4 separate regions of the Homo sapiens genome follow, and regions 1, 2 and 4 are each linked to region 3. Evidence: promoter capture Hi-C in 16 types of primary human blood cells and fetal thymus (Javierre and others, 2016). All regions are on one chromosome and are shown on one strand. Each heading gives the region's core, a stretch centred on a gene start or on the middle of the fragment in contact. The rest is flanking DNA. Distances are from core to core; before and after follow the strand shown. Region 1 overlaps ACO1 (aconitase 1). Region 2 overlaps ACO1 (aconitase 1). Region 3 holds the start of NDUFB6 (NADH:ubiquinone oxidoreductase subunit B6). Region 4 overlaps ACO1 (aconitase 1).

Region 1 (3,034 bases), core at 8-2,507, 130 kb after region 3:
CAAAGTCTAGAATATCGATAATGAGATGATTCATAGACAGTGATGACAGTAACCTTTTACCTCTGTTATATCTTGAAAAGTCACTTGGTTTTGTGGACTTTTATAGGCCCTCATTTCCAGTAATTGTGTGCTATATTTCAGTGAAATCAGATGTCTAATGTCACAGGAGAAAAAGATGCTTCAGCCTAATTTTGCCATACATCTTCTAGACTGAAGGTCACAATGAAGCGTTTTTTTTACATTAACTTTGTACTCTAAGGGAATTACATCTTGAATACATCTAGGATGACAGAAAATGGCTTAATAAATTTTCAGTTAGTGGTCCTTATTTTTGCCTCATAACACCGTGCTTTCTTCTGTTATATTGCTTTGTAATTGTCTATTTACTGGTCTGTGCCCTACCCCAAATTATAAGCTTCTTGAGCCGGTGATTGTTAAAAAAACAAAAATAAACAAAAGACTTTGTAAGTTAGAACTGTTCTCACACCTAAATTATTTGTAAGTACATATTAATATTTTACATAAAATGTTATCCTCTAGTGATAAATAACACAATAGCTAGTCTTCACTGATTGCTCATAATGTAGAGGCACTATGTAAGCACTTAAATAATTCCTCTCATTCCACCATCCACTAACCCGGGGATGTAGATGCCCTTATTGTCCCCCTTTACCCAGGGAGTCAGTGCTGGTATCTGGTAATTGGACCCATGAAGTCTGACAAATGATATAACATGTTTTAGCAAAGTTACATTGTATCTGGAATCCACATCACAAAACAACATAAAATTTTTCCCTTGATTTTTTTCTACTATTTTAGGTGTATCAGCAGGCACAGAAAGTTCAATCAAAAAAGCAACTTTCAGAACATACCACAGATAAAGTAAATGATTACCTCTTGTGTACTGCTTTTACACTTCCTGCTTCAAAGATGAAATTGTGTTGAATATAGTCTTGATATTAAGCTTAAAGTATGTTTTATTGGGAATCTATAATTGGCAATATACAGCAATAAAGGATGGTACTCCATTAACTAGAACTCCCCATTAGTTTATTATTAATAATTAATAACTGTCATATAATATTAAAATACCCTAAGAGGTCTCTTGGTATCTAGGGCACACTTTTAAGATGCCCAACACCAGGGTCACTTTAGGAGCTTGTTGAAAACATAGATACTTGCGTACTACCCCAGATCTGCTGCATCAGAATGTCTTGCAGGGAGCGTGGGGTGGGAGGGGGCTAGTGATTCTTACAATTTTGAGAACCGTGAACTATAGCGCAATGGTTCTCAACCACTGCTGCATACCAGAATCAGCAGGGGAGGCTTTTAAAATCCCAATGTCCAGGCCTTTCTCCTTACCAATTAAACCAGAATCTCTGGAGATGAGATCCAAACACAGGTATTAAAGTATTAAAAAAAAAAAATCCCATAAGTGTTTCCAAACTTGAGACGCACTGCTACAGAGAGAGGGCAGATTCTTTGGGGCGGTAGATCTTTTCTAGGGTTTTAGGGATAGATGGATGTATTCTAGGGAGGTAGAAAGCTTTCTAAACACACCCTATTCATGTCACTAGCTCTGTGTAAAGGCCATGCTGCTTTGCTTCAGAAGCTGTAAATCATAGCTGTCCACTGCTCTCTGTAAGTACAGTCCAGCACGGCTACGTGGCCCAGCCTGGACAGCTACAGAACAGAAGACTGTATGGCTTCCTGGGCAGCCAGAACTCAAGCGGTTCTATAGAAAAGTCTGGACTCTAGAGAACCCCTGGGGGCCAGTTCTCTTCTTATCCTCTATCAGATCTTAGAGTTCCCTACCTGAGTGCTGACTGCCTGGGTTGCATTTTGGCTACAGCTCCCAACCCCCTTCCTAAAATCCTTTTCTTCTGCAATTATCTGGTTCTTTTCAATAGTTTCCAGAAAAGACAGGCCTTTGACCTACTATCAACTAATCAGAGAACATTTCTATTTTCCTCAGAGCAAAATAACCAATTAAAATAATAGGTGTGATGTTCAAAGACATTATCAGAAGCCTAAATGTCTGGAGAACTGCCTGCCAGACAGCCACATTTTTTTACTGTACTTGTGGATATGAACTTAGTGTTTCCGAGGTGCATTAATTTGCGAGCCACAAATGATTTAAATTGACATCAGGTAAGCCATGTGTACCCCACCCTGAAGATTCAGGCTGGGTGGCATGATTCTTCTCTGCTTTTAGGGCAAGCAAATGCTCAAGAGGCAAAAGCTCTCTGCTCCCTGCATGGCCCCTTCTATGGGGACACCTCAAGAGGTAGAGCCCCGAGATGGCGGAAGGTTCTAAAGAGCTGCCTGGGTATGTGCAGAGTGAGTTTCACTCTCATCGAGAGCCCATAAGCAGATATTCATAGGCAGTGAAGTGCAATTATAAAAAGTGATTCTCCCAATTTTCCAGGAGACTTAGAACCCATTCTTGCCAAAGTAACTCCTGAAAAAGTCCAGGCTCCTTTTCTCTTCTGTGAAACTGACAGATAATACAATGGCCCTGGCTTATTCCTGACATTCACCTGGAACAAGGGACCTGAATAAATTTGGGGTCCTCAGCCTCTGAGAATGTTATAAAAGCCATGACACCTCTCCCCATGAAAGACATACATGTATACTTCTGGATATGTTTTCAGAGACTTCACAGACCCTACCCCAAAACTGTTCTATAGACATGCCCCCAAGGTCCATTAATGAATGATAGATCCAGTTCAACTCTGCATTGCCCTTCACCAAATAAAATAAATCCAGAGGCACCAAGAAGCAGGCCAGGAATAAACACTACCTGCTTTTTTGAGCTTGCTCTTCCTTGACATCTTCTTGGAAAGTAAAGCAACAGGATTTGTGCCTGGGGACCCTCCCAGTTCAGAGGGGAGCTGCCTCCTAGGATGTCTACTTCATACTCACCAGCAGGAAAGGGCCCTTAGCTGCCCAGTCTCGGGAGCTGCCTGCACCGTACTCTTTGCCAGCCAGAACGATCAGGGGAAGGCCTGCCTGCTGGTACCGCTCAGCAGCA
Region 2 (2,734 bases), core at 95-2,594, 150 kb after region 3:
CATTAATGAATGTGCTGTTCCTATCAAAGTGACTGTTTTCTGAAAAAGATTCTGGTTCTATCTATAGATAACCCGCCTCTTTTGGGGTATAGCCTTTAATTAGGAGAATCTTACACCTGAGCTAATTGTGAAAGCACACCTATGCATTTGCCTTCAACTGGCCACAAAGATTCAGCATTCCACATGATTACCGTTAAAATTAAAACGCATCCCAACCCCACCTGAAACCACTGGCTACTGAGCACTTTCTGGGCACTGTGTCCTAAACATTTTAAATGTATTACCTCAATCTCTAATCCTTTATCATAGTCTTAAGATACAAGTACAATTATTATTCTCATTTATGGATAAGGAAATGGCGGCTCAAGAAGACTAAGTAACTTTCTCATGTAACACAGCCAGTAAACGGTAGAACCAAAATCCAAACCAGAGCTTGACCCAAAAGTTCAAAGTCTTAACTCACGATGCTGCATCACCAGGAATATGACCTTGAACCCTCTGCTATTTAACTTTTATCAAGATCCCGGGGTAGGAGATAATACTCATGAAGTATGCCCAACGGACATGCAGTCCACAATTTCTCTGATGGTTAGAAACAGAAGGTTTGATCCTTTGGCTGATCCTACCACTGATCAGAACTTTTGTTTGTCTATTTGTTTTAGCTGAACTGTAAACGTCATTAGCTCTCAGCACAGACCTCATAAAAGACAGCTGTATGAGCTTCACTAATGTATTTGTCCTGACCTGTTGTTGAGCCCGCTGTTCACTACAACCCATGCCATGCTCTTCATGAAGATGAACAGGAGAAATCTTTCTTAGGGTTTACTATGAGAAAGGGCTACACTATTCTGAAGCAATATGTTTGTTTCAATTTAATAGATGTTACAAATTTGGCACTGGATTACCAAGAAGTATAATGGCCACCTGCAGCACCACGGGAACTAACCAACTAACCTTCCCTCTAGATCCATCTCACAGCTTTTATCCCTCTACCCAGCACACTATCCCTCTCTTTCTTTAGGTTGATTCCCTCAATTATTTATTCTGTTCTTTTAGTTATCTTTTTCACTTAAAATCCTTTGGGAGAACAAAGATGTATTAATCAATTTCAATGTGTTTATATTTAATAAAAACTTCTTTAAATAAACTTTTTCATGACAATCTTTACTATTTCTAGAGGAATTTCCTCAGGCTACAGCAGAAGACTAAGATTTATTTGGAGTCTGTAAGATTCTCATGAAACCCTTCCCATGGCTGTCCCTTCACTTCATCCAGAGATCTGTGCAAGCACCTCTGGGGTACTTCAGCCACCTCCCCTTTCTTTCTCATTATCACATCACACTCTCATTTCTTTTCTTTTTTCTTTTTTTTGAGACAGTCTCTCTGTTGGCTAGGCTGGAGCGCAGTGGTGCGAGATCGGCCCACCATAACCTCCACCTCCTGGGAGTTTCGCCATGTTGGCCAGGCTGGTCTCGAACTCCTGACCTCAGGTCAGATCTGCCTGCCTTGGCCTCTGAAAGTGGTGGGATTACAGGAGTGAGCCACCATGCCTGGACTCATTTCATTTTTTAGACATCCCTGAGAGGGGTGTTGCAGAGTGCTGTTCCTGTATGGGGCCAGGCAGTTGCAGGGTTGGATTCTGACTCTGCTGTTTATTAGCCTTGGGTATGAACACTTCTCTGCTCCTCAGTTTTCTCTAATGTTAATTAACTAGTCAATCAATCTACCCTACAGATCTGTAAAGAGGTTGACAGCAAATACATACTAGGTACCTGGTACACAGCAAGTACCCCATAGGCAGCAGTAACCATTACTAAGATCACTTGTTTAATGTCAAAAAACTAGTAGTAGAGGACCAGTATAAATATCCAGGCTTCTGTAATCTCTGAGCTCTTTCTATTGGCCATACCATCTCTATCTCATATTAACTCCTTAAATCCCAAAAACCCATTTTGACTCCATGGAGAAAAAAATAATTGTGTAACTGTAACCCAGTGCCTTCTGTTGGGTAGAGGCAGAAGGCAGTGCTCAGATTCTTGGTGTTTCATGGAACTTTTACAAAAAGCCCGATGCTTTCAGGGCCCTTCACTTACCTGTTTGCACCAGGTACGTGATACTAACTTCATCAACTGGGAAAAAGGCAGCAGTTGCTCCGTACTCTGGACACATGTTAGCAATCGTAGCTCGGTCAGCAATGGACAACTGGGCTACTCCAGGCCCGAAGAACTCGACAAATTTGCCCACTACCCCAACCTGGCGGAGGTGCTAAGCAGCAGAAACAACAGAAAAGTTTGAGATCTGATGGCCCACATTCAAAATGCAGAACTACCATCTTGCACTTCTTATAAACTAGTCTTGTCAGTAAACCCAAATAGTAAATCAGCCCAACACATTTGTGATCACTTTCAAAACTTAAAAAACAATGCCAACTAAATGCAACATGGTATCCTGGATTGGATTCTGGAGCAGAATTCTGGGACATTACTGAAAAAACTGGTAAAGTCTGTAGTTAAGAGTACCACACCAATGTTAACTTCTTAGTTTCGATAAATGTGCCATGGTTATTTAAGATGTTAACATTATGGGAAGCTGGGAGAAAGATAACAGGAATTCTCTGTACTCTTTATACTAACTCTCCCATAAATCTAAGATGATGTCAAATAGTTTTTATTTATAAAAAGAAAGACAAAGTGTGCCCAAAATACAAATGATATTAAGAAAAATATTTCAAGAT
Region 3 (2,713 bases), core at 156-2,655:
TGAAATATTTACTTGGTTCTAAAGTCAAATTTATGAAGTAAGATGTTTCCAGAGATGTCTAGATTCTATCCCTGTCTCCTCTATCCTATTTATTTCCTCCACCATAGGTAGCATCTTTAAAAACCTCAATTGTTTTCATTCCCATTATTTTGAAAATTTAAGAAAATATGTATATATATTGAAATTACCACCATCTTTCTCTTTTTGGGTAAAAGCATACTGTACAAATTCCTATCCATTTTTTTTCCACTTTGTAATGTATTCTGGAGATCACACCACAGATGTATATAGAGTTCTTCCTTATTACTTTTGACGATTGTATTAGCATTTCATTGCTTTGTTGTGTGAAAGTTTTTGGGAAGCCACTGTTTTGGACTAGCTTCACGCACTAGGCCCCAGCAGACCAGACCAAACCAGAATGGAGTCGTTTGTGCTAAGTACCACACAATCAAACTGAACTTTGAAATGGGCCAGTTTCCCAAAAAATAGGAAATTCCCTTAAGTCTGAGTCAGTGAAACAAGGAAGTTTCTTCTGCTTTAACCCTAAAAGTAACTTTGAAACGATGAGTCCACTTTTTGTTCGGTTTCTGCTTTCTTCAGCCCCTATTTGCCAATAAAACCAACCGCCTCTGCTCAGCTGATCAGAACACTCATTCTACTTTATAGAATGAGGTGTTTTTTGATTCTAGAATCACGAATAAGAGTCAATTAAGATTTTTAAACTAATTCGTTGTAATGCTGTCTTTTGACTGTTGTACTACAATTTATTCAAGCAGTCCTTTATTTAGGAATTTGGGGGTAATTTCCAATATTTTGGTATTATGAATCGTGCTGAATAGTCGTGCATGCTCTTTCATATTTTCACCACACGTATTTTTGGGTGAAAGCATGAATTCATCTATGCAATTTTGCTAGATATTAAGCTACTCTTTTCACTATTCCTGTACAGATGGAGGGACAGATGAGACAGCTGCCCAGGGCACTTCAGCAGTTACTGGCATAGCTGGGATTTGAACTGGGATGTAACTATTTTCATACACTCTCTAGGTCATTCCAAGGTGGGAGAGGCAAGCAAATAATTTTGAATCTGGCCAGCATATTCACTGAAACATTTATGCTTATCCTTCCTCCTCCCAGCATACAAGTTCTTCCTTAGCAAAACCTCCAGTCCTCTAATTTAGCATACTTTCGTCTAATCTGTCACTTTCCTCAGGCCCCACAACTACGAGTACTCCTTGTCCCCACCCGGTCCTAATTTGGTCGGGTATAGCGGAGGTGGGCGTAGAGAGAACTGGAGGTGGAGACCTTTGTGCATGCCCACACACTGCTTTCCTCGCGAGGAATCTGGGGCCCTTGCAGAGGCGGAACCAGGATGTGACGTAATAACCGCGCGCGGCGCTCGGCGTTCCCGCAAGGTCGCTTTGCAGAGCGGGAGCGCGCTTAAGTAACTAGTCCGTAGTTCGAGGGTGCGCCGTGTCCTTTTGCGTTGGTACCAGCGGCGACATGACGGGGTACACTCCGGATGAGAAACTGCGGCTGCAGCAGCTGCGAGAGCTGAGAAGGCGATGGCTGAAGGACCAGGAGCTGAGCCCTCGGGAGCCGGTGCTGCCCCCACAGAAGATGGGGCCTATGGAGAAATTCTGGAATAAATTTTTGGAGAATAAATCCCCTTGGAGGAAAATGGTGAGTGACAGACCTCTCCGGTCCCCCCCAACACATCCCACTGCTGCCGGCAGCCTGAACACTGAACGTCCGCTCCCTGCAGCCACACCAAGGACTGATAACGCTCAGTGCTCTGGGACACTGGCCAGTCCCGAGAGTCCTCCTGGAGTCTCGGGAGGCAGGAGTCCAGGAATATGTATGGCTTTGAGAGAATCATGCCTTTTACTGTCAAGTACAGTGGACGGGGGCGAATTTTAATACTTAGGTTTTCCAGGACGCTGCACGTTTGGTTCTCTTTTGACTGTAGAAATCTTCCCTCAGAATAATAACCAAGGACTCGCTAGAATTAAAATTCTGTGATTTAAGTATTTGAGGACACTTGTCTGACTTTTAAGTGTGAGGTTCTAGAGACCAAGTAACACAGTATCCAACCACCAGAGGGCACAGCCAGCCCCTAGCTGATAGTACAGCCCCATGTGATCCCCGTAAAAGACAGGGTCCTGTTGGTATGCCTTGTGAGTCACATTCAAGAGCTACCTTTCTAAACTACCGTTCTGTACTTTTAACACAGTGTTTCATTAAAAAAATCGCATTTTGGGCTTTGAAGAAAATCACTCATTCAAGAACTTTATTTTCAAGGCCTCTGGGTATTTTCTTGAGGACTGTTATGGATGATAAACATCTCAGAATTGCTTTCAGTTACCTGCAACACTTACTGATGACAGGATAATAGTAGTAACAATACTACGTAACACACGGGTGCTTGCTGTGTGCTTGGCACTCTACTGGGGGTTTTACATGTGTTACTTCATTTCTTTATTCCTGTAAGGTAGATATTCCTAATCCTCATTTTAAATGTGAAGAAACTGAGGCCTACAAAGCTTCAGTGATTTGCTGGTGGTCAGGGAGCTAGGAATTGAATATGAGTTCATATTGTAATCAACATGTATCTGATTCTTACTGTGCTACAAAGTCTAGTGCAATAGAATTGTTGAAAATTTTTCTGAGAAAGTGATATTGGATACTTATTTATGGTGGTAAAATTCAACTC
Region 4 (2,728 bases), core at 209-2,708, 170 kb after region 3:
CTTTTCTGTTTTATCTGATCTTCATTCAACAATAAAAGATAGGAATGAACAAACGAAGACAATGAATGTGGACATTTTGGAGATGGCAGAGTATCTAAATATATATGGTGTTTTTCTTTTTTGAAAGAGGGAAGAGTTAGCATATATCACACTATTTGGGGTTGCTGCTTTCTTTGTTCTATAGAATGAGATGATACTACATGGTGGCAAGAAGAGAAAAGAGGAGAAGAAAAAAGAAAAAAAAAAGAAGGAAGGAATGGGAAATGGTATCTTTTAAGGTACAAGGTGGGAGCAATTATTCAGAACTTGTCCCTCCGGGACGCTTGTCAGAATGATGAAGACAGCTGAACACTTGTCCCTGGCCACTGAATCAAGGAAGACAGATGAACAGTTCTTAAACAAAAGGAATAAAAACGGAGCTACTGTATCTGAAACCCTTCATTACATGTAGTTCACATTCTGAAAGTCAAGATAATTATTTGGTAGAGAAACAGTGTCTTTCAAAGCTAACCCATCCTGAAATACTAGCTGGGTGACTTGTACAGGGTTATGATTAGCACAGGTACACTCTGCATGCAAGAACGGGGGTGGGCATGGACAGTCTGAACACCAGATTTTTAAAGTAGGTCACTAAAAAATAACAAATATTATGCAAAGGCAGGCAGAACTAGGGTAAGACATTTAACAAATGAGCCATGCTCCCAGTAAAAGGGTGGGAGGAGTGAAGAGCTAGGGTTTTTCCCCAACCACAGTCTTGCTACCAACTGACCTTTGGCTCAATTGAGGACACTTGCAGGTGCCTTGGAGTAGCACCTTTTGTGCATACATAGCATGGCACTAAGGCATGGCACCAACCTGTCACCATTCCCTAGGGACACCTTGACCTTAGGTGCTAAGGAGGTAATGAGACATAGAATGTTGAGTTTTTAGTAAAGAACCTTAGCAATCATGTAGCATTCCCCAGAGGAAGACAGAGAGGCCCTGAAAAGCAACTGACTGCCTAGGGTCACAGGACTCATTAGTGGGATAACCAGAAAAAAAAAAAAATACAGCTGATTTGCCCTCCAGTGAAATGCAAATTTCCCTCAGGGGGAAAAAAAAAACCCTTAAAATCTTTCACAGGTAGAGTTGAAAAAAGTACTACCTAGGTGTATCACAGTCTTTTGGTGCTTCTGTGATGTTAGTTCTATAATCACTTACTAAAACTTCCATGTGTTTCAGAATTCCAGAGAACTGACAGCTAAACTTTGGAAAAACAACTTAAATTTAGGTTTCTGATGATCTGCCCTGGGTGCCACTTTTTTCCAAAAGCCACAGTAAGGGCAAATCAATTTTCCTGATATAATATTGCGTATACAATCCCTTACTCAGATTCAAGATACAAAATGTTAGTAAAGGCTCACATTAAATGATATGAGAATTTTAAAGTTGCAAAATAATATATATATGTATATACTAGGATCTGATTTAAGTGAAAAAAAAAAAAAACTTCAAGACCATTAGTGTATATTCATTCATACACACACACCATTGCATATGCAAATGCACAAAAAAGAAAGACATAAAGTTAACATGGATTACAAATAGAATAACACATTGTATAAAGGGGAGACTTTAGCTTTCTATGTTTCATACTCCTGTATTATTCAAATTCTATTTTTGATAAGCATGCATTCATTTACTACTTACTTCTTAAAACACTGGAGCGGTCATTTAAACTTTGTACATAAATACCTACATTAGCATCTCTATAAAATGAGAACTTGACATCTTCAGCAATACCCTTTGAAAGAAAGATAGAATGGTCCGTAAAGTTCCTGGAACTACAAATGCAGATCTTTCTTTAATAATGACTGGTGAAGATGTATTTAAATTTGTGACTATAACTCCAGATAAAGTCCACTTTGCTCCCCTCAATATGTCCTTTGATATTCACCAACAGAGAGAAAGAGCTGTGAAGAGAATCCCTGAATGGCTCAAATTTAGCCTTAGATGAACAGTGCCACACCTCATTCAAGTCAAACACACTAATCCAAGGGGGGCCCTCCCTTCCCACCCCATCCCCAGCTCCCTTTCCAATCTCAGCAGGATACCAAATTTGTTACTGAACCACATCTTCTTGGGTGGTGGTAACTTTAAAAAATATTACACTAAGGAATAGATACAGCCAGGCGCAGTGGCTTACACCTGTAATCCCAGCACTTTAGGAGGTCGAGATGGGCGGATCACCTCAGGTCAGGAGTTTGAGACCAGCCTGGCCAAGGTGGTGAAACCCTATCTCTACTAAAAGTACAAAAATTAGCCGGGCATGGTGGCACACACCTGGAGTCCCAGCTACTCAGGAGGCTGAGGAAGGAGAATTATTTGAACCCAGCAGGCGGAGGGTGCAGTGAACCAAGATCGTGCCATTGCACTCCAGCCTGGGTGACACAGCGAGACTCCATCGCAAAAAAAAAAAAAAAAAAAAAACAGAAAAAGAAAAAAATAAAAGAAATAGATGCTCACTGTAGCAACAACAGAAAATGCAGGTGAGCAAAAAGAACAAAATAAAATCCTTTGTAATACCATGATTTACAGTTTCATTTACCATGACTTTTAAACGCATTTGAATTTTTCAAAAAAAAAAAATCACTAGACCTCACATTGTTTTGCTAATTGCTTTTTTTCACTCAACAATAAACCTCAAATATCTTAATAGGACAATCGTGTGATATTTTACAGCACTTTA

The links. The method cuts DNA at HindIII sites, captures the fragments that hold promoters and counts their contacts. A CHiCAGO score of 5 or more calls a contact.
Region 1: a contact is called between a fragment that was not itself captured here and the fragment with the promoter of NDUFB6 in region 3, in 9 of 17 cell types (megakaryocytes, M2 macrophages, M1 macrophages and 6 more). The highest score is 8.8, in megakaryocytes.
Region 2: a contact is called between a fragment that was not itself captured here and the fragment with the promoter of NDUFB6 in region 3, in 5 of 17 cell types (non-activated CD4 T cells, erythroblasts, M2 macrophages and 2 more). The highest score is 6.2, in non-activated CD4 T cells.
Region 4: a contact is called between a fragment that was not itself captured here and the fragment with the promoter of NDUFB6 in region 3, in 13 of 17 cell types (neutrophils, naive CD4 T cells, naive B cells and 10 more). The highest score is 11.5, in neutrophils.

Annotation. Positions count from the first base shown.
Region 1 is chr9:32,440,479-32,443,512 of GRCh38, reverse strand. It overlaps ACO1 (aconitase 1), which reads right to left. Exons shown (of 21, transcript NM_002197.3): 19 at 2,926-3,034. Among named protein-coding and RNA genes, the nearest start is that of ACO1, 57 kb to the right of the region's middle. The HindIII fragment of the contact is 582 bases long and covers 967-1,548 here.
Region 2 is chr9:32,420,387-32,423,120 of GRCh38, reverse strand. ACO1 (aconitase 1) reads right to left here. Exons shown (of 21, transcript NM_002197.3): 8 at 2,094-2,265. Among named protein-coding and RNA genes, the nearest start is that of ACO1, 37 kb to the right of the region's middle. The HindIII fragment of the contact is 5,989 bases long and covers 1-2,734 here.
Region 3 is chr9:32,571,851-32,574,563 of GRCh38, reverse strand. It overlaps NDUFB6 (NADH:ubiquinone oxidoreductase subunit B6), which reads left to right and starts at 1,405. Exons shown (of 4, transcript NM_002493.5): 1 at 1,405-1,683. The coding sequence starts at 1,504. RefSeq lists enhancers at 998-1,047, 1,318-1,857. The HindIII fragment of the contact is 6,496 bases long and covers 1-2,545 here.
Region 4 is chr9:32,399,708-32,402,435 of GRCh38, reverse strand. All of the region lies in intron 1 of ACO1 (aconitase 1), which reads right to left. Among named protein-coding and RNA genes, the nearest start is that of ACO1, 16 kb to the right of the region's middle. The HindIII fragment of the contact is 7,739 bases long and covers 1-2,728 here.